6 separate regions of the Homo sapiens genome follow, and all the other regions are linked to region 3. Evidence: promoter capture Hi-C in human tissues and cell types (Jung and others, 2019). All regions are on one chromosome and are shown on one strand. Each heading gives the region's core, a stretch centred on a gene start or on the middle of the fragment in contact. The rest is flanking DNA. Distances are from core to core; before and after follow the strand shown. Region 1 overlaps CPLANE1 (ciliogenesis and planar polarity effector complex subunit 1). Region 2 overlaps NIPBL (NIPBL cohesin loading factor). Region 3 holds the start of WDR70 (WD repeat domain 70). Region 4 overlaps WDR70 (WD repeat domain 70). Region 5 overlaps NIPBL (NIPBL cohesin loading factor). Region 6 overlaps WDR70 (WD repeat domain 70).

Evidence for each region. The method cuts DNA at HindIII sites, captures the fragments that hold promoters and counts their contacts. A contact is called where the count stands out against the background at its distance.
Region 1: a contact is called between a fragment that was not itself captured here and the fragment with the promoter of WDR70 in region 3, in 1 of the 25 tissues and cell types used here (lymphoblastoid cells).
Region 2: a fragment that was not itself captured here is called in contact with the fragment with the promoter of WDR70 in region 3 in 1 of the 25 tissues and cell types used here (heart right ventricle).
Region 4: a contact is called between a fragment that was not itself captured here and the fragment with the promoter of WDR70 in region 3, in 1 of the 25 tissues and cell types used here (lymphoblastoid cells).
Region 5: a contact is called between a fragment that was not itself captured here and the fragment with the promoter of WDR70 in region 3, in 1 of the 25 tissues and cell types used here (lymphoblastoid cells).
Region 6: a contact is called between a fragment that was not itself captured here and the fragment with the promoter of WDR70 in region 3, in 1 of the 25 tissues and cell types used here (IMR-90 fibroblasts).

What each region holds. Positions count from the first base shown.
Region 1 is chr5:37,104,678-37,109,432 of GRCh38, forward strand. CPLANE1 (ciliogenesis and planar polarity effector complex subunit 1) reads right to left here. Exons shown (of 53, transcript NM_001384732.1): 52 at 3,616-3,794; 53 at 1,558-3,101. The coding sequence ends at 2,925. Among named protein-coding and RNA genes, the nearest start is that of CPLANE1-AS1, 140 kb to the right of the region's middle. The HindIII fragment of the contact is 5,050 bases long and covers 1-4,755 here.
Region 2 is chr5:36,958,372-36,961,608 of GRCh38, forward strand. It overlaps NIPBL (NIPBL cohesin loading factor), which reads left to right. Exons shown (of 47, transcript NM_133433.4): 5 at 3,113-3,212. Among named protein-coding and RNA genes, the nearest start is that of NIPBL, 83 kb to the left of the region's middle. The HindIII fragment of the contact is 5,778 bases long and covers 1-3,237 here.
Region 3 is chr5:37,376,855-37,381,017 of GRCh38, forward strand. It overlaps WDR70 (WD repeat domain 70), which reads left to right and starts at 2,464. Exons shown (of 18, transcript NM_018034.4): 1 at 2,464-2,538; 2 at 2,635-2,700. The coding sequence starts at 2,514. The HindIII fragment of the contact is 7,487 bases long and covers 1-4,163 here.
Region 4 is chr5:37,743,737-37,748,426 of GRCh38, forward strand. All of the region lies in intron 17 of WDR70 (WD repeat domain 70), which reads left to right. Among named protein-coding and RNA genes, the nearest start is that of GDNF-AS1, 94 kb to the right of the region's middle. The HindIII fragment of the contact is 8,823 bases long and covers 1-4,690 here.
Region 5 is chr5:37,000,858-37,003,357 of GRCh38, forward strand. It overlaps NIPBL (NIPBL cohesin loading factor), which reads left to right. Exons shown (of 47, transcript NM_133433.4): 13 at 1-31; 14 at 132-221; 15 at 1,805-1,908; 16 at 2,404-2,490. Among named protein-coding and RNA genes, the nearest start is that of NIPBL, 130 kb to the left of the region's middle. The HindIII fragment of the contact is 4,085 bases long and covers 1-2,500 here.
Region 6 is chr5:37,666,554-37,671,139 of GRCh38, forward strand. The region is part of intron 10 of WDR70 (WD repeat domain 70); the gene reads left to right. Among named protein-coding and RNA genes, the nearest start is that of GDNF-AS1, 170 kb to the right of the region's middle. RefSeq lists an enhancer at 1,974-2,268. The HindIII fragment of the contact is 5,236 bases long and covers 403-4,586 here.

The DNA.
Region 1 (4,755 bases), core at 1,255-3,754, 270 kb before region 3:
GGCAGATCACCTGAGGTCAGGAGTTCAAGGCCAGCCTGGCCAACATTGTGAAACCCCATCTCTACTTAAAAAAAAAAACACACACACACACAAAAATTAGCTGAGCATGGTGGCAGGCGCCTGTAGTCCCAGCTACTCAGGAGGCTGAAGCAGAAGAATCACTTAAACCCAGGAAGCGGAGGTTGCAGTGAGCCAAGATTGTGCCATTGCACTCCAGCCTGGGTGACAAAAGTGAAATTCCATCTCTCCATGTGTTATTAGTACACAGTTACAAAAACAAAAACAGCACTGAACTGGTATAAAAACACAGACCAATAGAATAGAATAAAGAAGCTATCAATAGGTTGGGTGCAGTGGCCCATCCCTCTAATCCAAGCATTTTGGGAGGCCAAGGCGGGAGGATCACTGGAGCTCAGGAGTTCGAGATGAGCCTGGGCAACATGAAACACTGTCTCTATGAAAACTACAAAAAATTAGCCAGGCATGGTGGTGCGCACCTGGAGTCCCAGCTACTTGGGTAGTCGAGGTGGGAGGATCGCTTGAGCCTGGTAGGTCAAGGCTGCAGTGAGCCAACATCACACCACTGCATTCCAGCCTGGAGAACAAAGTGAGATCCTGTCTCAAAACAAAGACAAAAACAAAAACAAAAACAAAACAAAAAACAAAACAAAAAACTATCAATAAATCCATGCATTTACAGCCAGCCCATTTTTGGTAAAGCTATCAAGAACATACAATGGGGAAAGGATACTCTCCTGTTCAATAAATGCTGCCAAGAAAACTAGATGTCTATTGCAGAAGAATGAAACTACACCTGTATAAATCACATATAAAAACCAAAATAGATTAGACTTAAATATGAGACCTGAAACTATGAAACTACTTGAAAGAAACATTTGGGAAACATTTCAGGACACTGGTCTAGGCAGAGATTTTTTCTGAGTAAAACCTCAAAAGCACAGGCAATGAAAGCAAAAATTGACAAATAGAATTACATCAAGCTGAAAAGCTTCTGCACAGCAAAGAAAACCATCAACAAAGTGAAAAGACAACCTAAAGAATGGGAGAAAATATTTGCAAGCTACCCATCCAGCAAAGGATTAATAACCGCAATATATAAAGAACTCAAACAACTTAGTAACAAAAAAGAATCCTACTACAAAATGGACAAAATATCTGAATGGACATTTCTCAAAAGATGACATACGAATGGCCAACAGGTATATGAAAAAATGCTCAATATTACTAATCATCAGAAAAAAGGAAGTCAATACCATAATGAGGTATCGCTGCACCCCAGTTAAAATGACTAATAGTCATTTTATTTATTTATTGCTGGAATAGTCATTTCCAGCAAAAGATGGAAAATAAATGCTTGTGGGCATACAGATAAAGGGGAATGCTCATACACCCTTGGTGGGAATGCAAATTAGTATAGCAGCTATGGAAAACAGTATGGAGGTTCCTCAAATAATTAAAAATAGAACTACCATATGATCTAGCAATCCCATAGCTGGGTATATATACAAAAGAAAGAAAATCAGTATATCAAAGAGATATCTGCACTCCTACATTTATTGCAGCTCTATTCACAACAGCTAAGATATAGAATTGATATAAGTATCCAACAATGGATAAATAGCTAGAAGAAAAGGTTTGAATGTTTCCAACACAAATAAATGATAAATGTTTGAGGTGATGAATATCCCAATTACCCTGATTTGATTGCTACACATTGTATGCACATATCAAAATATCACATGCACCCCATAAAAATGTACAACTATCATGTATCAATAAAATACCCATAGAATATACAAAAAAGAAACTAACAGAAAACAATTTAAAATATTTTAAATGACAAAACAATTAAATGACAATTAACAATAATGTTAGCCTATAAAGCTATTTTCTAAAACAATTTGGTAAGGAGAGTAGCATTGTTTTATAGTTCTACAAATCTCTTTAATGTTTAGCTTGATAGAAGGCAGCTGAATTACCATACCTGCTTCTGCATTCAACTTGCTGCAATACATGTTGTAAAACCTGGCTTCACACAGGTAGATATTTGGAAAAAGAGGGGTATTTAATAGCTTTTTCAGATGATAGTGTGCTTTTATATTATACCAAACATTGATGAAGTAGTTGAAGGATACTGGTTCTTAGTCAATTCTCATAAAAATTATCTCTTAAAACTATGACATTATTGGAGCACAATACCAAAAACTAATCAGGTCTCTGTACCATGGTTCTTACAAATTTAAGATGAGCCTTCTAGAGGCCGGAGTCATATTCCCTTACTTTCCTGCCCAAAGCATCCATTCCTGTTTCTTCCTCCAAGGCTTCAGGCTACAGGGCAGAAGACAGAAGATCTCCTGGCCTCCATGAAACTTTGCTTATTTAGAGATTCAGGGTTGGTAAAAGGTAGTTGGTTTTTCTTTTCACTCCTAGGCTAAACCCTGCATAGGTGTTTTAAAATAGGGTTCATAATTGAGTTCTCAGGTGAGACTGATTTTCTTCTCAATGAAAAGATTTTTTTTTTTCCTATTAGATTCATCTGTATATGGTTGTTTCTCAAAACTCAGAGGGTAATAAAGGAGGAGGCAAGATAGAGGGTTTTTATTGAAAGTAGGTTATGCAAACTTGGCTTGAAAGGTACTTATCATTTTAAAAATTATGCCTAATGATGCATCAAATACAAAAACATATAATACATCAATAGTCAACCCTTTCCCCATAAAGGCAAAGTTACTGAGAAATGTTTATTTTTCCTCTGGTAATGGCTAATCCAGGTAATAATATGAAAGCAAATGGAAAATTCACATTGCTTCTTTCATTGCTTCTGTCCCTTAAACCTGTTAATCTTTCAGAACCACATTACTGAGGTGCTGGCCTGTGCATGGAAACCCAATGATATCCAGGTCTTACAGGTCCAGGGCCCAGTGGACAGACAGGCCCTGGTCCTCCACGCTGGCCACCATGTCTTCGATGGCATTCCAGTCCAGCTTGCTGAGGATGCTGCCAGTGCTCTCAGACACGCTGTCCACACCGCCCACCCCAAAAGGATGCTCTGGCTCTTCCTCTTCAGTTGGAGACAAGTCCTATTAAATTGAAAAGACAATTGTGGTCCTAGCCCCTAAAAACAAACAAAAAAACAAAAACAAAAAAACCTGGAACGTGAACTAAGCTTTCCAAAAATTCTAGAGTTGCTCATCCATCAAAAGGCTGAAGGAAATGTGCCAGGAAATAGGGCTGTGATTGCCCAGCACATCCAGATGGACAAGAGCTGAACATCATCTCACACAACGAGATGCTGGCACCAGATGTGAAGACAGGGCAGAACGGATGTTGATACTTGTAGTACGATTTTATGTTCTTACATTTTGGTCATTTTTTAGTTAAAAAATACAGTCACAGAGAAGTCTGAAAGACAAATGCTGAAGTACTAAGCCAAAAGGGAAGATGCTTTGCATCACGATTTCAAACTGACCTAACAACTTTTCAGTATTTCCACATCCCACAAAAAACAAACTAAAAAACAAACAAACAAACAAACAAAAAACCTGAAGAACATAGAGCAATCACTAGACAAACAAAATCTAGAACAATGCTTACTTGTAGAAGGGAATTGTGACTCTCATGAAGAATCTTATGGATTTCTGAAGGTATCGTCCAGGGACTCACCACAGTCTCCTCTCTTTCATACTCTACACACACCTGCTTGGTTTGAGGTGCAAGCCCAGCACTTCCATGTTTTTTTGTATGCTGCAGACTATGACACGGAGCATTAGAGCCTTTTAAGGGATAAGAACAAAGCACACATTGGGATTGATTCATTCATTCATTCATTCATTTGTTAATTGTGACTTTTATCATCAAAGCCAAGGTAGTCACATTTTAAATAATATTTGAATCACAAGGTCTGGAAATGGTTCACTTTAGAGTTCGAACAATTCCTGTCCTGTCACTGTACGAGATGGAAACTGAATTCCAGCCTTTGGATTTGAAAACTATTAGTAATTAATCTTTAAGACAAGAAAATCTAGGGAGGAGAGGCCACAGATATAACAGAACGGTGGAGAGGTATTGACACCAAAGTTGGGTGAACTCTGAGACCTGGGCCTTCCCTGTCTTTTACAGAAAGTCTTGTGAAAACTTCTTAGAAGCAATGTTTTGGGCATCTTCACCCAGGCTTAATGCTTACAATCTGCCTTTAGGCAAAGGCATCACAGTGAGTGTGGTGACAATACATTATGACCCTCTTTCTTCTTACTGCATATATCAGTATTTGTTGAAAAGAAATTTTCATTCCAGCTAATGCCCAGAGGCAGCTTAGTAAACCCACAAACCAATAAGGTTTCTCTGCACAAAGCCCTAGAGGAGCCTACCTCACCTAACACAATGTTCCAAAGCCAATATCACAGCATGTTCTACCCTTCGAGGTGATTTCATGAAGAAACACCCAAGACATGGGACAAGATGGGAAGTAAATATAGATCCCAAACAAGCAGTCATGTGGCTCCCTGAAGAGGGGAGAAGAGGTATGACAATGCTGAAGTTTGGGCCCTCTTTGTCTTTTGTAACTCTACCAACCTTATGTACTTGAAGCTGAAGATATCTCCAAGAAATAAAGCCCCCAAAATAATCACAGCACACACTTTGGCATTTAGTATAGGCTAATAAGCACTTTTACATTCAGTCCCTTGAACTTACCAGACATTCATGCCTGGTCTTTAGATTTTCTAACACACCTCT
Region 2 (3,237 bases), core at 1-2,500, 420 kb before region 3:
CTGATAAGATTCTTGTAGTTTAATATGTAACTAAATTCCTTGAGAATTAGACAAAGCTTTAAGTGTATTTTGTTAAATATGTTGGAATATATCAGTTTACTCAGCTTAAAAATTTTTTTGTTTTAGAAAATCAGAATTAATTTGAAATAAGTCTTTCATTAATTAAATAAATATTTGCAAAGCTTTTGAACATGTACATTGTAGCAGGTATATAGAGTTTTAATACTGATTGTGATTATATTCATGGTTTTCTAGTAATTGATTTAATACTCCTGTTGCCTTAGCAACAGAAAAATTGGTTAAGTATTATTATTAAAGAAAAATTGATTCATGGTATTATAAAATAATAAAAATATTACATCCAACACAGATATAATTTTTATGTAGTCATGGAGTACCTTTGGGTTAAGAGCATTGTTCTGTTCAAGCTTACTGAATTTGACAAGCCCAAGTGCCTGTTTGGCTCTCAAGATTAAAATAGGGCAGGAATAGCTTGGACAACTTCAGAAAGTTCAACTTTGTTAATTAAATAATTGTATTTAAGAATTTTATCAGCCGGGCATGGTGACTCACGCCTGTAATCCCAGCACTTTTGGAAGCTGAGGCAGGTGGATTGCCTCAGGCCAGGAGTTAAGACCAGCCTGGGCAACATGGTGAAAACCTGTCTCTACAAAAAAATACAACAACTAGCCAGGCATTATGGTGTGCGCCTGTAGTCCCAGCTACTTGGGAGGTTGAAGTGGGAAGATCGCTTGAGCTCAGGAGGTCAAGGCTGCAGTGAGCTGAGATTGCACCACTGCCTTCCAGCCTGGGCGACAGAGCGAGACCCTGTCTCCAAACAAAAAGAAAAAATAAATAAAATAATTTTGCCAAATTCATTTTGGTTTTGGTTTACTTTGTTGGCAGCACTTCCATGATGCTTCCCATTCTGTTTCCTTTAAATAATATTGCTTTGCTGATTCTGTGTACTTGTGTTGTTTGAATGGTATTTTGAAAGCAATTGCATAGTTACTATTGATTCCTCAAAATGCATAATGGGGATGCTTCTGACCGACTTGCCTTTTAGCAAGTTGAAGGTAGGTATGCACGACAGGGCTCTGACTTCACCAGAACTAATAAGTTAGATTGCAATAGTAGGAGACAGATATAAATAATGAAGGAAGCTAGAGTTATGACGGCTTTCTGGAAAAATGTTGGAATTGAAAGAAAATGTGGAAAGAGAGTTGAGTGGAAGAAAGACTAATAGAGTAGGAGTATTAGTTTTATGAGAATGTGAGTAAATCTAATATTGGATAAATGAATCTAAGGCTACTAATACTACATTTTTGCAACTTACATTTTTGAGTATTTGGGTAGTAAATCACTCTGATAAAAACTTTTAGAGTGTTCACCTCTCAGTCACATATTTTGTGTTTTATACTACATATACTTGTTTTTTAGTCCAAAATATTGTTTGATTTCTGTATACCCTACTTTGTAAAAGCATAAACTAGCATTTAAAATTAATCAATTAATTGCATGTTATTTTTTTTTTTAAAGCATTTTCCTGGTGATATATGGCTTTGAAATTTTAAAAGTTGGCTGGGCGTGGTGGCTCACGCCTGTAATCCTGGCACTTGGGAGGCCAAGGTAGGAGGATTGCTTGAGCCCAGGAGTTCAAGACCAGCCTGGGCAATGCAGAGAGACCCTGTCTCATTGAAAAATAAAAAATAAAAATAAAATAGAAATTTAAAAAGTTGATTTTGGGGTTGGTAAGTTTAAATATGAGTCATGCATGTGGAGAAAATTGTAATAAAATGCAAATCACTTTAATCATAGTTCTTTGGAACTTAGAATTAATTGAAAAGGACTGTTAGAATTTCATTTACCCGTTTTATTTAGAAAGCCATTGCTTTCAAACTAGTAATTCCAGTTTGTCCCAGTGATGGCTGTTAATTCAGGGGGGAAAAGCTTTTTAACTCCTGTCTCATTGAGTGTTCATCTCCCTCCAAAAGAAAAAGAAAAAAAAAAAAACCTCCAGCAACAATAATTATAGTAATTAAGCTATTAAAGCTATGGAGCAAAACAATTCTGTGCTGAGTTTGAGTTGGAAAAGAAAAGTCAGAAGTTGAAATTTAGACTACATACTTAAGAAAACACCCTTCAATGGTAGACTTAGAGGCGATTTTGAAACCTAATTTCATTCAGCTACAATCTCTTTTGTAGTACTCTTAGCAAATCAACTTCTGTTTGAATATTTCTAGTGAAAGCCACTTTTTATAACAACAGCAGGAAATGAAATTTGGAAATACAATTTGATGCTTGCAGCTGCCAAAAAAGAGATTGGCTATAGAAATCATAAGAAAATTCAGGGTGTTATTTGTAGATTTTTATCTGATTTTGAAATGTCTAAATAAGTGAATTTTTCTGTGTCTCCCATATAATGAAATGTCATGTGAATAATTGAGAAATAATGTCTAGCTTGGAAATAAATGTAAGAACCAGAATGCTCTTCACAGGTTTTTATTTTTTAATAAAATATTCCGTTAATCCCTACTATGTGACAAAGAGTTATTGTGAAAGAAGGAATAGGTACATTCTGTTTTGCTTCAGAAGACATTCAGGTGGAAATTGCAGGAATTCAAACTTTCGGCCCATAAATAAAGTACTTTTCAAAACCTGTGTCTGAACCATGATAATACAAATAGCTTTGTGAAATTAAGTTCCCAAGCATGAGAGATGTATATGATAAAATATTCATGTAATAAAAACTACCCTGAGTCCCGTTGTAGAAGGAAGTGTATTGTGTTAGGTGCGAGGTTAGATAAGACAACTTTTAAAAAAATCTTTTCAATTCTAAGGCTAAATAATAGAATATTGAGTAAGCAAGTAAATTTTTTTAAAATATTATAATCTCTGTTTCTAGTCCTGGATTAGTTTTATGGAAAATGGTGTTGTAATAAAATTGTTCTTGAAATTTACAGTTTTACAGCGTCTATATTTTGCTCTTTGAAATGAAAACATTGATCAAAAAAATCTCTGGAATGTTTGAAAGAATAACTGATTTCAGTTATTTAAAGGACACTTTACTGTTAGAAGAAAATAACGTTCTGTATTTTTGTGTTTTGCATAGGAATGATGATGTCTCAGTATAAACTTTCTCAGAATTCCATGCACAGTAGTCCTGCATCTTCCAATTATCAACAAACCACTATCTCACATAGCCCCTCCAGGTAATATATGTATATATCGTTTATT
Region 3 (4,163 bases), core at 1,214-3,713:
ACCCCCAAAGTTTGTGTCTACTATTTTATTATTTTTGCATCACTCTATTATATTGACTTTGGAAACAAAAGACATTATTCTATTTATAGCATTCTGTTTTTAGTAGTGGAATTTCCATTTACAAAATATAGTAATTCTCGACTGCTGAAAATGTCAAATCCTAGAAAACATAGCATTCCTATGTGTGATGTTAATTCCATGGTGAACTTATGGCACTGAAATGGTGTGACAACAAGGCAGTCACAATGTTGTCAATATTCCACAATGATACTGTGATTGAAGTAGACAACAGATGGAAAGAAAACTAAGAAGCCATGTGTCATTGTGGATTATAACGATAATATGGGAGCAGTGGACTTGGCTGATCAGATGCTCACTTCTTATCCAGCTTAGCGCCAAAGGTACAAGGTTTGGTATAAGATATTCTTTCATAGGCTGTGTGCAGTGGCCCACGCCTGTAATCCTAGCACTTAGGGAGGCTGAGGCGGGTGGATCGCTTGAGCTCAGGAGTTCAAGACCAGCATGGGCAACATGATGAAACCCTATCTCTACAAAAAATACAAAAATTAGGCCGGGCACAGTGGCTCACGTCTGTAATCCCAGCACTTTGGGAGGCTGAGGCGGGCATATCACTTGAGGTCAGGAGTTTGAGACCAGCCTGGCCAACATGGTGAAACTCTGTCTCTACTAAGAATGCAAAAATTAGCCAGGGGTGGTGGCAGGGCCTGTAATCCCAGCTACTCGCAAGGCTGTGGCAGAATTGCTTGAACCCAGGAGGCGGAGGTTGCAGTGAGCTGAGATCGCGCCACTGCACTCCAGTCTGGGCAATGGAGCGAGACTCTGTCTCAAAAAAAAAAAAAAAAGTCGGGTGTGGTGGCGGTCACATGTAATCCCAGCTACTTAGGAGGCTGAGGCACAAGAATCGCTTGAACCCAGGAGGTGGAGGTTCATTGAGCCGAGATTGTGCCACTGCATTCCAGCCTGGGTGACAGAGTGAGATTCTGTCTCAAAAAGAAAGAGATTCTTCTCCACCTTCTAAACGTTAAAGTGTTGAACTCCCACATTCTGTTTAAGAAGGACAATCCTGAGCACACGATTAGCCTTGTAAACTTTAGACTGACAGGCCAGGTGCAGTGGCTCACGCCTTTAATCGCAGAACTTTGGGAGGCTGAGGTGGGCAGATCACAAGGTCAGGAGATTGAGACCATCCTGGCTAACACGGTGTAAACCCTGCCTCTACTAAAAATAGAAAAAATTAGCTGGGCGTGGTGGCGGGTGCCTGTAGTCTCAAATACTAAATAGCCGGGCATGGTGGCGCACACCTGTAGTCCCAGCTGCTCGGGAGGCTGAGGCAAGAGAATCGCTTGAACCTGGGAGGCAGAGGTTGCAGTCAGCTGAGATCACGCCACTGCACTCCAGCCAAGGCAACAGAGGGAGACTCAGTCAACAACAACAACAACAACAACAAAAAGGCAGAGCGCGGTGGCACGGGGCCTGTAATCCCAGCACTTTGGGAGGCCAAGGTGGGCAGATCACCTGAGGTCAGGAGTTCAAGACCAGCCTGGCCAACATAGCAAAACCCCGTCTCTACTAAATACACAAAAATTAGCCGGGTGTGGTGGCAGGCGCCTGTAATCCCAGCTACTCAGGACACTGAGGCAAGAGAAGAGCTTGAACCTGGGTGGCAGAGGTTGCAGTGAGCCGAGATCACGCCATTGCACTCCAGCCTGGGCAACAGAGTGAGACTCTGCCTCAAAAAAAAAAAAAAAAAAAAAAAAAGCAAAGGGTGTCGCCTGTAATCCCAGCACTTTGGGAGGCCGAGGCAGGCGGATCACTTGAGGCCAGGAGTTCGAAACCAGCCTGGCCAACATGGCAAAACGTCGTGTCTACTAAAAATACAAAAAATTAGCTGCGCGTGGTGGTGGACGCCTGTAATCCCAGCTACTTGGGAGGCTGAGACAGGAGAATCGCTTGAACCCGGGAGGCGGAGGTTGCAGTGAGCCGAGATCACGCCATTGCACTCCAGCCTGGGCGACAGAGGCTCCGTCTCAAAACAAAAACAAAAACAAAAAAAAAACAAACCAAAACAAAAAACCAAAAATTAGCCGGCACCTGTAATCCCAGCTACTCGGGAGGCTGAGGCAGGAGAATCGCTTGATCCCGGGAGGCAGAGGTTGCAGTCAGCTGAGATTACGCCACTGTACTGCAGCCTGGGCGACAGAGGCTCTGGCTTAAAAAAAAAAAAAAAAAAAGGGAAAGGATGTTATAGAAACTCCAGATACTACTTCTCCCCTCCAGTGGTCTGAGTTGCGCGGCGCTTTCCCGCCTGTCCGGTAGGGCGGTGCCGCGCAGAAAGCCGCGGTCCCTCTGCGGAAGGCGCCGCTCTTGGCTTCGGCGGCGCCGCTGTAGCTTGAAGGCGGTACTTCCTCCAGCATTTGCCGCAAGTTATTGGCAAGTTCCCCTGCAGTTGTTTGGGCTGTCCCTGTGGCTGGTTCTGGGGTGTGCGGCCAGCCATGGAGCGCTCTGGGCCCAGCGAAGGTGGGTTTCATGAGGCGAGTCCGGGCGGGGTGGGCCGTGTCGGGGGAGCTGGGGCGCCGCACTAACTAGGCCGCCTCTCTTTTCCTCTTGCTCCAGTGACAGGCTCAGACGCGTCGGGACCGGACCCGCAGCTTGCGGTCACCATGGGCTTCACGGGGTTCGGTGAGTGACTGCCCCAGGCAGAGACCCTCTTCCTTGTGCAGAGGTTTGAAGATCCGCAGAGTGGGAGTGGAGATCGAGCTGTCAACTCGGAATTATTGTAGCTCGGGTGCATACCTTGCAGTTTGTCAATATTCTTCTCCCATTTGTCTTCTATTCTGCGTTATCCGTTGGAACCAACTCAGATGACAGTTATGAGAGTCTGGAGAGAGAGGAAGAGAAAGGATTTTTCTAATTTTAAGTCACCAATAATGCTAAAATGAACATTTTTGTAAATAACAGCATTTGTACGAGGATTTTTAAAAATACGTAATTCGGTAGGGTAGATTTCTAAAAGAGAGTGTAGTTTATTCAGAAATATAAATACTTAAAAAGCTGAAAAATTGGGTATGTGCCTTTTAAAGCTTCTTGATGCTTATTGCCGTAATACCCATCAAAAAACTTGTTCCAGGTTATACCAAAGTTAACAGAATTAAGAATGCCATTTTTACCATATCCCTACCAACACAGAGTAGGTATTATTATTTAAAAAGAAAATTATTTAAAAAATGAAAACAAAACTTAGTAGACTGATACATGAAAAATGATTTCTCTTTATTTTCCATTTTAAAATTATAAATGCTGTTCATCCAAACATTGGGATTCTAACTTCCCTGAACCTTTTCTCAAGGTCTTCTTGTTTTCTTTTGACCAGCGTGTATTAATTCTATGATAGTAATTAAACAGTAGACTTACACATATTGGCCTTGGGTTGTGTTCACACATACTAGTTCTGTAGTTTCTCTATTCATTCTTTTTTTTTTTGGAGACGGAGTCTCGCTCAGTCGCCCAGGCTGGAGTGCGGTGGCAAGATCTCGGCTCACTGCAATCTCTGCCTCCCGGATTCACGCCATTCTCCGGTCTCAGCCTCCCGAGTAGCTGGGACTACAGGCGCCCGCCACCTCGCCCGGCTGATTTTTTTTTTGTATTTTTAGTAGAGACAGGGTTTCACCGTGTTAGCCAGGATGATCTCGATCTCCTGACCTCGTGATCCGCCCGTCTCGGCCTCCGAAAGTGCTGGGATTACAGGCGTGAGCCACTGTGCCCAGCCTTTTCTATTCTTTTTTTATTTTTTGAGATGGAGTCTCGCTCTGTCACCCAGGCTGGAGTGTACTAGTGCGATCTTCGCTCATTGCAGCCTCCTCCTCCCAGGCTTAAGCCATCCTCCCACCTTAGTCTCCTGAGTAGCTGGGACCACAGATGTGTGCCACCACACCTGGCTAATTTTTTATACTTTTGGTAGAGACGAGGTTTCACCATGTTGCCCAGGCTGATCAATCTCCTGAGCTCAAGCAGTCCGCCCACCTGAGCCTCTCAAAGTGATTACAGGCATGAGCCACCCCACCCGGTATAAATCCTTCATTTTAGTACATCATTCCTTTACTCAGGAGTGAGAAAGTTGTCCATATGTTTGTGCCAAATAGGGG
Region 4 (4,690 bases), core at 1,398-3,897, 370 kb after region 3:
CCAGCCAGAGGCTCAGGGACAGAATTGGGATCTCCCTGGGCCTGAGCCCCTAGCAGGAGGGGTGGCCTTAGTCTTTGCAGACCAACAGACTTTGCCTTTTCTCCTGGTAGTTCTGAGGAATCCGGGCAGCCCAGACGAGTGGGTTTCCCCCCAGCAAAACACACCCTCTCCACCAAGGGACAAAGTGCTTCGTTAAATGGGTCCTGCTCCCCATGCCACCCAACTGGGTGAGACCCTCCAACAGAGATTGTCAGACGCCCTATACAAGAGCAATTCTACTGGCATCAGGTTGGTGCCCCTCGAGGTTAGAGGTCCCAGAAGAAGGAGGAGGCACCCACCTTGGCTGCCCTCCAGCCTCCTTGAGTGACATCTCCAGGCATGGGAGCGAATCAGATGAATGGAGCCTGAAGTGAACCCCCAGCAAACTGCAGCAGCTCTAGAGAAGAGTAGCCCTGATTATTGAAAGAAAAACAAGCAGAAAGTAACAACAACAGCATCAACAACAACAAAAAGGCCCCACAAAAACCCCATCCAAGGGTCAGTAGCCTCGAAGACCAAAACTAGACAAACTCATGAAGATGAAAAAGAGTCAACAAAAAAATGCTGAAAACCCACAAGGCCAGAGTGCCTCTTCTCCTCCAAATGATTGCATCGTCTCTCCATTAAGGGCACAGAACTGGATGGAGGATCAGAGGGACAAATTGACAGAGGTAGGCTTCAGAAAATGGGTAATAAAAAGCTATGATGAGCTAAAGGAGCGTGTCCTTACCCAATGCAAAGAAGCTAAGAAGCTTGATAAAATGTTGGAGGAGGAATTGCTAAACTAGAATAACCAGTTTAGAGAGGAACATAAATGACCTGATGGAGCTGAAAAACACAGCACAAGAACTTTGTGAAGCATACACAAGTATCAACAGCCAAATCAACCAAGCAGAAGAAAGGATATCAGAGTTTGAAGCCCACCTTACTGAAATAAGACATGCAGACAAGAATAGAGAAAAAAGAATGAAAAGGAATGAGCAAAGCCTCCAAGAAATATGGGACTTCATTAAAAAAACGAACCTATGATTGATTGGAGTACCAGAAGAAGATGGAGAGAATGGAAACAAGCTGGAAAACACACTTCAGGATATTTTCCAGGAGAACTTCCCCAACCTAGCAAGACAGGCCAACATGCAAATTCAGGAAATACAGAGAACACCACTAAGATATTCCAAGAGAAGATCAACCCCAAGACCCTTAATCATTGGATTCTCCAAGGTCGAACTGTTAAGGGCAGCCAGAGAGAAAGGCCAGGTCACCTACAAAGGGAAGCCCATCAGACCAACAGCAGACTTCTCAGCAGAACCTCTACAAGCCAGAAGAGATTGCGGGCCAATATCCAACATTCTTAAAGGAAAGAATTTTCAACCCAGAATTTCATATCCAGCCAAACTAATAAGCTTCATAAGCGAAGGAGAAATAAAATCCTTTCCAGACAAGCAAATGCTGAGGGATTTTGTTACCACGAGGCCTGCACTGCAAGAGCTCCTGAAAGAAGCACTAAATATGGAAAGGAAAAACCAATACCAGCCACTGCAAAAACACACCAAAATATAAAAACCACTGACACTACGAAGAAACTGCATCTAGTGTGCAAAGTAACCAAATAGCATCATGACAACAGGATTGAATTCACACATAACAATACTAACCTTAAATGTAAATGGGCTAAATGTCCCAATTAAAAGATAGACACAGACTGGCAAATTGGATAAGGAGTTAAGACCCATTGGTGTGCTGTATTCAGGAGCCCCATCTTATGTGCAAAGACACACACAGGCTCAAAATAAAGGGATGGAGGAAAATCTACCAAGTAAATGGAAAGCAAAAAAAAAATGGGAGTTGCAATTCTAGTCTCTGACAAAGCAGACTTTAAACCAACAAAGATCAAAAAAGGCAAAGAAGGGCATTGCATAATGGTAAAGGGAACAATTCAACAAGAAGAGCTAACTATTCTGAATATATATGTATCCAATACAGGAGCACCCACATTCATAAAACAAGTTCTTAGGGACCTACAAAGAGACTTAGACTCCCACACATTAATAGTGGGAGACTCTAACACTCCACTGTCAGTGTTAGATCAACGAGACAGAAAATTAACAAGGAAATTCAGGACTTGAACTCAGCTCTCGATCAAATGGACCTAGTAGACGTCTACAGAACTCTCTACCCCAAATCAGCAGAATATACATTCTTCTCATTTCCACATGGCACTTATTCTAAAATCGACCACATAATTGGAAGTAAAACGCTCCTCAGCAAATGCAAAATAACTGAAATAATAACAAACAGCCTCTCAGACCTCAGTGCGGTCAAATTAGAACTCACAATTAAGAAACTCACTCAAAAACCACACAATTTCATGGAAATTGAATAACCTGCTCCTTATTGACTCCTGGATAGATAGTGAAATTAAGGCAGAAATAAAGAAGTTCTTTGAAACCAATGAGAACAAAGAGACAATGTTCCAGAATTTCTGAGATATAGCTAAAGCAGTATTAAGAGGGAAATTTCTAGCACTAAATGCCCACATTAGAAAGCTAGAAAGATCTCAAAACGACACCCTAACATCACAATTAAAAGAGCTAGAGCGGCAAGAGCAGACTAATCCAAAAGCTAGCAGAAGACAAGAAATAACTAAGAGAAGAATTGAAGGAGATAGAGACATGAAAAACCCTCCAAAAAAATCAACAAATCCAGGAGCTGGTGTTTTGAAAACATTAACAAAATAGATAAACTGCTAGCTAGACTAATAAGAAGAGAGAGAAGAATCAAATAGATGCAATAAAAAATAATAAAAGGGATATCACCACTGACCCCACAGAAATACAAACTACCATCAGAGAATACTATGAACACCTCTGAGCAAATAAACTAGAAAATCTAGAAGAAATGGACAAATTCCTGGACACATACACCCTCCCAAGACTAACCCAGGAAAAAGTTGAATCCCTGAATAGACCAATAACAAGTTCTGAAATTGAGGCAGTAATTAATAGCCTATCAACTAGAAAAAGCCCACAACCAGATGATTCACAGCCAAATTCTACCGGAAGTACAAAGAGAAGCTGGTACCATTCCTTCTGAAACTATTCCAAACAATTGAAAAGGAGGGACTCCTCCCTAACTCATTTTATGAAGCCAGCATCATCTTGATACCAAAACCAGGAAGAGAAACACACACAAAAAAGAAAACTTCAGGCCAATGTCCCTGATGAACATTGATGCAAAAATCCTCAATAAAATACTGCCAAACCGAACCCAGCAGCACATCAAAAAACTTAATCCATGTCATCAAGTCAGCTTCATCCCTGGGATGCAAGGCTGGTTCAACATACGTAAATCAATAAACATAATCCATCACATAAACAGATCCAAAGACAAAAACCAAAAACATATTTACAAGAAAAAAACAAAAAAGTGGGCAAAACATATCAACAGACACTTCTCAAAAGAAGACATTTACGTGGCCAACAAACGTATGAAAAGAAGCTCAACATCACTGATCATCAGAGAAATGCAAATAAAACCACGAGATACCATCTCACACCAGTCAGAATGATGATTATTAAAAAGTCAGGAAGAATAAATGCTGGGAGGCTGTGGAAAAATAGGAACACTTTGATTATCTCAGTAGATGCAGAAAAGGCCTTAGATAAAATTCAACACCCCTTCATTTTAAAAACTGTCAATAAGCTAGGTATTGATGGAACATATCTCAAAATAATAAGAGCTATTTATGACAAACCCACAGCCAATATTACATTGAATGGGCAAAAGCTGAAAGCATTCCCTTTGAAAACTGATACAAGACAAGGATGCCCTCTCTCACCACTCCTATTCAACGTAGTATTGGAAATTCTGGCTGGGGCAATCAGGCAAGAGGTATTCAGATAGGAAGAGAGGAAGTCAAGTTGTCTCTGTTTGCAGATGACATGATTTTATATTTAGAAAACCTCATCATCTGAACCTAAAAACTTCTTGAACTGATAAGCAACTTCAGCAAAGTCTCAAGATACAAAATCATTGTGCAAAAATCACAAGTATTCCTTTACACCAACAGTAGACAAGCAGAGAGTCAAATCATGAATGAACTCCCATTCACAGTCACTACAAAGAGAATAAAATACCTAGGAATACAGCTAACAAGGGATGTGAAGAACCTCTTCAAGGAGAACTACAAACCACTGATCAAGGAAATATGAGAGGACACAAACAAATGGAAAAACATTCAATCCTCATGAATAGGAAGAATCAGTATGGTGAAAATGGCCATACTACCCAAAGTAATTTATAGATTCAATGCTATTGCCATCAAACTACTGTTGACATTCTTCACAGAATTAGAAAAAACTATTTTAAATTTCATATGGAATCAAAGAAGAACCCCGTATAGCCAAGACAATCCTAAGCAAAAAGAACAAAGCTAGAGGCATCACGTTACCTGACTTTAAACATACTACAAGGTTACAGTAACCAAAACAGCCATATAGACCAATGAAGCAGAACAGAGTCCTCAGAAACCTACACATCTACAACCATCTGATCTTCGACAAACCTGACAAAGACAAGCAATGGGGAAAGGATCTCCTATTCAGTAAATGGTGCTGGGAAAACTGGCTAGCCATATGCAGAAAGCTGAAAC
Region 5 (2,500 bases), core at 1-2,500, 380 kb before region 3:
AAAGCATATGAACCAAAACTAACACCTGAAGGTAACACGTTAGTTTATTTAATTTGTCTTTATTCATATTCTTCAGCTTCACATGTCTACTTGTAATGTGAGAATAATGAATATATTTTTCTCTCTTGCAGAAATGATGGACTCTTCAACTTTTAAGAGATTCACAGCCTCAATAGAGAATATTTTGGATAATTTGGAAGATATGGATTTTACTGCGTTTGGTAAAATCAACTTAAAATACATTTACACATACTCTAAGTGTCTTAACTGTATCCTCTAGAGTAACTCAGTTACTCTAGTGATGTGTCCTACCTTGAAATCATATACTGGTTGTTGTTGTGATCACTTGTTGCTGACAATGATAAACTTTCTAGTCTGTTATTTGACTAGCAACTGCTCTTTTCTGAATCCCTAACTATGATAAATACACAAATACTTAAGGCTTAACTCAGTTACTCTAGAGGATACAGAGGCATACTCTGTGCTATCAAGAAACTTGAAATCTAGTTGTAAAGTCAAATCTAGTCTGTTACCAAGAAATTAAAAACTTTAGTACAAAACTCAAGTATATATTAATCAAGTCTGGATAGTATCTAAAGAATCATGAGTAAGTGAGAGTAATTTAAAAAGTCTTTATGCAGGTGAGGAGGCTTGAAAAGGCCCTGTATAATGAAGGTACTGATAGGAGCATATATGCAGAAATAAGCATCTATTCTTCTGTTCATTTATTCTAATGACCAATATTTATTGAATACTTACTGTATGCCAGTAGTATGTTAAGTGCTGGAGATGTAAAAATAACTAAAACCCAAACACCTGGCTTTAGGGAATACAGATTCTAATATGGAAAACAAAATAGTAAACCAGTTAGAATACAGTAGGATTAATGTTATATTCATGTATTACTTTTACAATGACATAAAGATTACATCTATAAATATTAAAATGTTTATAAAAACACTGCTTGCAATGTATAGAGCTATTCTTAACAATCTTATGCCACCTTCAGCTGGTAAAGTAAGTATTTGTTTTGTGAGAATTACTTGCCTGAGTATCATTGTGTTTGCTGATTATTTAGAATGTCAGTTTCATCTTTTTTAAAACTTTACAGTTCTGTGCTGAGAAATTGTCTTCTGTATCATTTAGGGTCCAAAAGTACAAAGGGCACTCTCAAAATAGGATAATATGAGGAGGAGTTATTTACAAAGAGACCAGTTAAAAAGATGGAGGCAAAATAATACCAGAACCCAGGGTTAACAGCCTTAAACCAAAAGAGTGAGGATACAGAAAAGTCACCAGAACTCATTCTGCAGGAAAAAAAGTTGTAGAGTAGGCTGCCTTGAAAGAAGCAATACCTTTTGGTCAGGGGACAGAGCCAGCCTGAGGAGACCTTGTAAGCAAAGAGTAAGAGATATAAATACTTTGACCTTACACTCCTCTTTGATCTTCTAACAGGGCACCCTACTGGCCAAACCCAAACAAAAGCCAGAGGGCATGGGAGACTCTTGATGTAGTCCATTCAGGTCAGCCTCCTGAGGCAGAGAATGTGGTTGAGAAAGAGTCAAGAGTATATCTAAAGTAGTAAAGATAAGATATCTATCTCATCTTCCCATTTCAGTCATAAATCTGACTTCAATTTCTGTCCTTTTTCATTCAGGGTTTACTTGAGGTTTATATATAGAGGCGTCTTAGGTTATTTGTTTAGTTTGCATGTCTAAAAATTTTATTAGAAAGTTAAGCTTGACATTTTGAACTATTTTATTTACCTAAACTTTGTTTGTGTTTGTTTGGCTTGATTTTGCAGGTGATGATGATGAAATTCCTCAGGAACTGCTCTTAGGAAAACATCAGCTTAATGAACTTGGCAGTGAATCTGCTAAAATAAAAGCAATGGGTATAATGGATAAGGTATCTCACCAAAGTAAAATTTATAAATTTACTTCATAGAAACATTTGAAATTAATTTAAGGTTTTCAGGGTAAATTATAAAATTTATGTAAAGTAAATAGTAAAAAGAAAACTCATTGTTGACTTCTGAGAGTCTAAATGAGTTTTTTTGTTTTTTTACAAAAGAAAAAAGTATTCTGCAGATTATTCTAAAGAGAATCATATTACTGCATTGAAAGAGGCATGGACTTTAATTTTTTCCAGAGTTTTTTTTTTTCATTTTCTCAAATATTTAGATTATTTAAATGCAGAAATATATTAAATTTTTCTTTGACATTTGCTTTAGTCATTTAGGGTCGTTGAGTAGAAGTTCTAAGTGGGAAAGTTTTCTTACTCTTTAAGAGGGTGACAATGCTATTTCCTCCATAGCTCAAAGGGAATAATTGTACAGATTGTTTCTTGAATAATATATAACTTTTACCAACGATTGATAAAGAATTTATATTGCTATTTTAGCTTTCAACTGACAAAACTGTGAAAGTCTTAAATATCTTGGAGAAGAATATTCAGGATGGGTCAAAGCTTTCCACTTTGTTAAATCATGTAAGTTTAA
Region 6 (4,586 bases), core at 1,771-4,270, 290 kb after region 3:
CCCACTATTCTACACCTAACTCTTGCTTTACTTCCCTACTTTTCACATTCAGATTCCGTTGGTGGTTGGTGACAGGACTGGCCTAGCAAGGGAAGAACAAGGGTGCTGCACAAACAGAGTCTAGGCTCACTTTAGTTGCAAATGAGGGTCAGAGCAGAGGTAGCCTGAAATCAGAGGAACCATGAGTACTATGTACCATGTATAGTGGTCGTTAAGTGTGCAGATCCTGGGACACACTGCTTGGGTTCAAATCCTGGCTCTGCCCCTTACTGGTCACATGTCTAGGGTAACTAACCTTACCTTTCTGCACCCCATACTCTCCCTGGAAAGTGGGGATAATAATAGTACTTATCTCTTAGGACAGTTGAGAAGATTCAAAGGGTTATTAGATTCCATGCACTTAGGACAATATCTAGCCCATAGTGAGTGTCCAATACATGTTTTTGCTATTACTATGTACCAGCCCCCATGACTGGATCTAGAGGGAGGTAACAAGTGACTGGTAGGTGATTTTTATTGCCTCTTCGTGGATGAAACACTACTAGCTTCTGCCTTAGATTGAATTTATACTAGACTTTTTTGAGAAATCTAAAATAATGCAAAAAGAATGCATTATATAATTTGAAGGAGAAAAAAAGTTATTTTATGCTGTCCATCTCACTCCTTGCACTGTCATCCCTGGGGATACAAGGAGGTGTCATTCACTGAGGGCCATTCATTTCACTCAGCCTCAGTTTTCTTGTTTGTAAAATGAGATAATAATTACACATACCCCAGGAGGCTTTCTTTTAATGATGAAATTGGAAAATGTATGTTTTACTGCACTGAATAGCAACATGTTCAGTAACTGTAGCTGTTGCTGTTATTATCATCATTATTATTATTTCCACCACCATTAATGTTGCCATTTAAAATTCTTACTGAATCACAGGAGGCCTTTAACTTAGCTAACAGTGATTTGACAAATAGAGGTCTTTTTCCTAAGGTTTTAGTTTTTTCCAGATAAAAGTGAGCTAATTGTGGGCCAAATTCAGCCTGTCCTCTTTTTTATAAATAAAGTTTTGCTGGATTGCATAGCCTTATCCATTTGTTTATGTATTAGCTATGGCTGCTTTCATGCTACAACAGGAGAAGTGAACAGTTGCAACAGAGTCTGTATGGTCCTCAAAGCCTAAAATATGTATTATAAGCCCCTTTCTAGAAAAAGTTTGCTAGACCTTGCTCTAGGTATATGTTTCTCCAGTGAGGTCCAGAGAATGTTAGTTCAATCCATGCTAGTCTGTACGATCTGAAAAAAAAAAAAAAAAAAAAAAAAAAAGGTTCTATAGTCAAATAAGCTTTAGAAATGTTAAGGAGGTTGATTTATTCTAGGACTACTACTTAAAAGACTTTGGCTTTTAATATACTCATGTTTATTGTGAATCTTCAAGACAAGGCCATGGTGTGCAAATAAACTCTAGTTTCGCAGGCTTACTTGGCTGTAGTCCCCTAATATGATGATGTTACAAAAACAAACAAAGCAAAACAAAACAAAACAAAAAACAATTCTCTAGGAACCCTTGCTCTTGGGCTTTCTCTCTGGAAGGACTTTCTTTCTAAATCATTCCTCTTGGTGATTTAGGTGATATCCTCATTTGGAGACCTACAGAATATCATATGAAATTCTGTGTTAGTTGTATCATTTTTTTCCCAGTAAAAATTATATTTTGCTTAGCATCAGAACAGTAAAATATACCAGATATTTAAGTCATCTAATCAGATAATATCTGCCTTTTTGAATGATTCTGTATGATGTCTGAAGATTATAAATTAGAGTCTCAAAGTCCAAGAAAGACAGGATGTTTCATTTCATGCCTTCTTGAAATTCTAAAAGCATGGGTCTTCTGTAGGACTTAAAATGTTTTTTTGCATTCAGATTTCTGAAGCATAAATTTAGAGTGCCTAAGTGATATACCAACTGGTCTCAACTAGGGTTTATAAGAAGAGAGATTAATGTGAAGGTAACTTGTGCATTAGCCATAAGGGGTTTGTTTTATAGACTAAAGTAAACACCTTCAATTTCAAGTTGCAAGCACACAGGGAGCCAGAAGATTCCAGAGCGGTGGCATCATATTCTGCCTGTGACTCACACATCTAAGTGGTTGAGCTTTCTCCCGCAGCTGCAGCTTCCAGCTGGTCATCAGTTAGAGTCCTAGGTAGTCACACACTGTGGTCACCTGGTTTGAGATGACCAAACAGGCATATAATTACAACATAGGCCAGTTATGAATGAAGGCTGGGTTATCTCTTTGCCAAACACAGATAAAAAATAAATGCTAAGTCATAGCTGTTTTCTGAAATCCCAGTGGTTGCAATAGTGAACCTGGACTGAAAGTAGAGAACCCTCCTGGAAGATTCCACCCTGGTTGTAAATGCACACTCTCTTTCTCATTTGTGAGCTTCCTCATTAATGGCATAGAGCATTCTTAGCCATTTTGGTGCCCTCCAAAATGCCTGGTTTATAGTTGGTGCAATAAATGTTTTATGAAAGAATATGAGGTCATACATGTTTTCCCCCTTTCCCAACTTGCAAATTATTTCAAGAAAATTCTGTATTTTCTTTTTATTTATATATCTCAGTGTTGTGTGTATAACAGGTTCTCAGTAAATGTTGTTGACATTGTAAATGTAGATTCCAAAAACTTCCTTATTTCACTTTTACATTATGGGGATGCTGAATGGACTTTTCAGAAATCTTTGTCAGATCCCACTGTCTTTTGTTTTTAAATTATTTCTTTAAAAGAAAGGAAGGAAGGAGAGAGGGAAGGGGGAAAACATCTTGACCTGGAACATAATTATCTTTTTTTTAAAAAAAAAAAAACATTTTGTTTTCTTTAGAGTCAGGGGTCTTGCTCTGTAGCCCAGGCTGGAGTGCAGTGGTGCAGTAATGGCTCACTACAGCCTCAAACTCCTGGACTGAAGCTATCCTCCTGGGCAATGAGTGAGGCAGTCCCAGATTCTCCTCTTACCACCTGTGTTGTCAGACCACTGCTGGTACCACTTGTGTTAGTCTGGGTCCTCTGAGAAGCAGACACCAAGACAGGATTAAATGTGTAAGAGATTTACTGGGGAGTACCTAGAAGGGAAATTGGGGAGGGAGCCAGAGAAGTCTGGAGAGAGTCAGACCATGATGTAGACCATGCGTTTGTGAAGGAGAGAGGAAAGAATGGAATATTGAATATCCATCAGCTGATGAATGGATAAATAAAATGTGGTACATCCATACAGTGAAATATTATTTGGCAATAAAAAGAAATGAAGTGCTGATACATACTGCAACATGGACGAACCTCAAAAACATTACGCTAAATGAAAGAAGCTGTCACAAAAGGCAGCATGTTTTATGATTTCATTTGTATGAAGTGTTCAGTTTAGGCAAATCTACACAGAAACTAAATTAGTGGTTGCTTAGGACTGAAATATTAAGAAAAAAAAGGGAGTGATTGTGATTGCTCATGTGTATGGGGTTTCCTTTTGGGGTAGTGCGAGGTTCTAAAATTGATTGTACTGGTGGCTGCGCAACTCTTGGAATATACTGAAAACGTTGAACTACATAGTTTAAGTGAGCAAAGTGCATGGTATGTGAATTGTGTCTCAATAAAAATCTTATATCAAAAGAAAAGAAAAAAAGGGGGAGTATATGCTGAAAGGATCTTGGACTACTGCACGATGCTAAGAAAGTTTTGGCCAAGCTAACTGGAATTCCATTTATCCTCCACACTCAGGCCTTGCAAAGCATACTCAGTGACAGAGGCAGCGAGAGTGTCAGTCATTTATGCTTTTCACGATGGGAGGTGTGAGAGGCTACATTTCTCATAAGCCAAAGCAAGTCGCGTGTCCATACCAAGATACAAAGTATAGAGAAACAGATGCCACATCTTGATAAAAAGAACAGCAAAATTATATTGTAAAGGGGTGTGCCACATTTTCAGTAACTCATTAAATTTTCCCAGCAGCTTATGAAGTGGGTACTATTACTATTCTCATTTAATAGTTGAAGAAACAGGCATAGGAAGATTAGCCCAAGATCATATAGATGTGACCTTGGAATCACAAGTAATTGTGACTACTTGTAAGTGGAAGAGCCAAGATTTGATCTCAGCAGTCTGGCTCTATAGTCTGTGCTCTTCATCATTATACCATACTTTCATATAGTATATTAATTTGAATGTCACAAAATCTATTAGAGATATTTTGTTATCCATTTTCCCTCACTGAAATGAAACCTTCACGGAATGGGGTCTTTATTTTGTTCACTGCTATATCGCCAGTGGCTGGGACAATATTTGGCATGTAAATATTAGTTGAATTTATATGGATTTGCAAAGCACCTTTATATGACAGTTCTATACTTGTATCCGCATTGTCCTTCCTACAGGTCTCTAAAATCAGAGAAACAGGAGAAAGTTATATTCAGTCTAGACCTGGATTTATTTTATTTTTTAAATCTTGGCATATTGGAGTACTTTAAATCCTGGTATAGTAAGTAACCCTAACATGTGATTGAAAACATAGAATTATTGGAATTGTTTGGTTACCACTAAGCT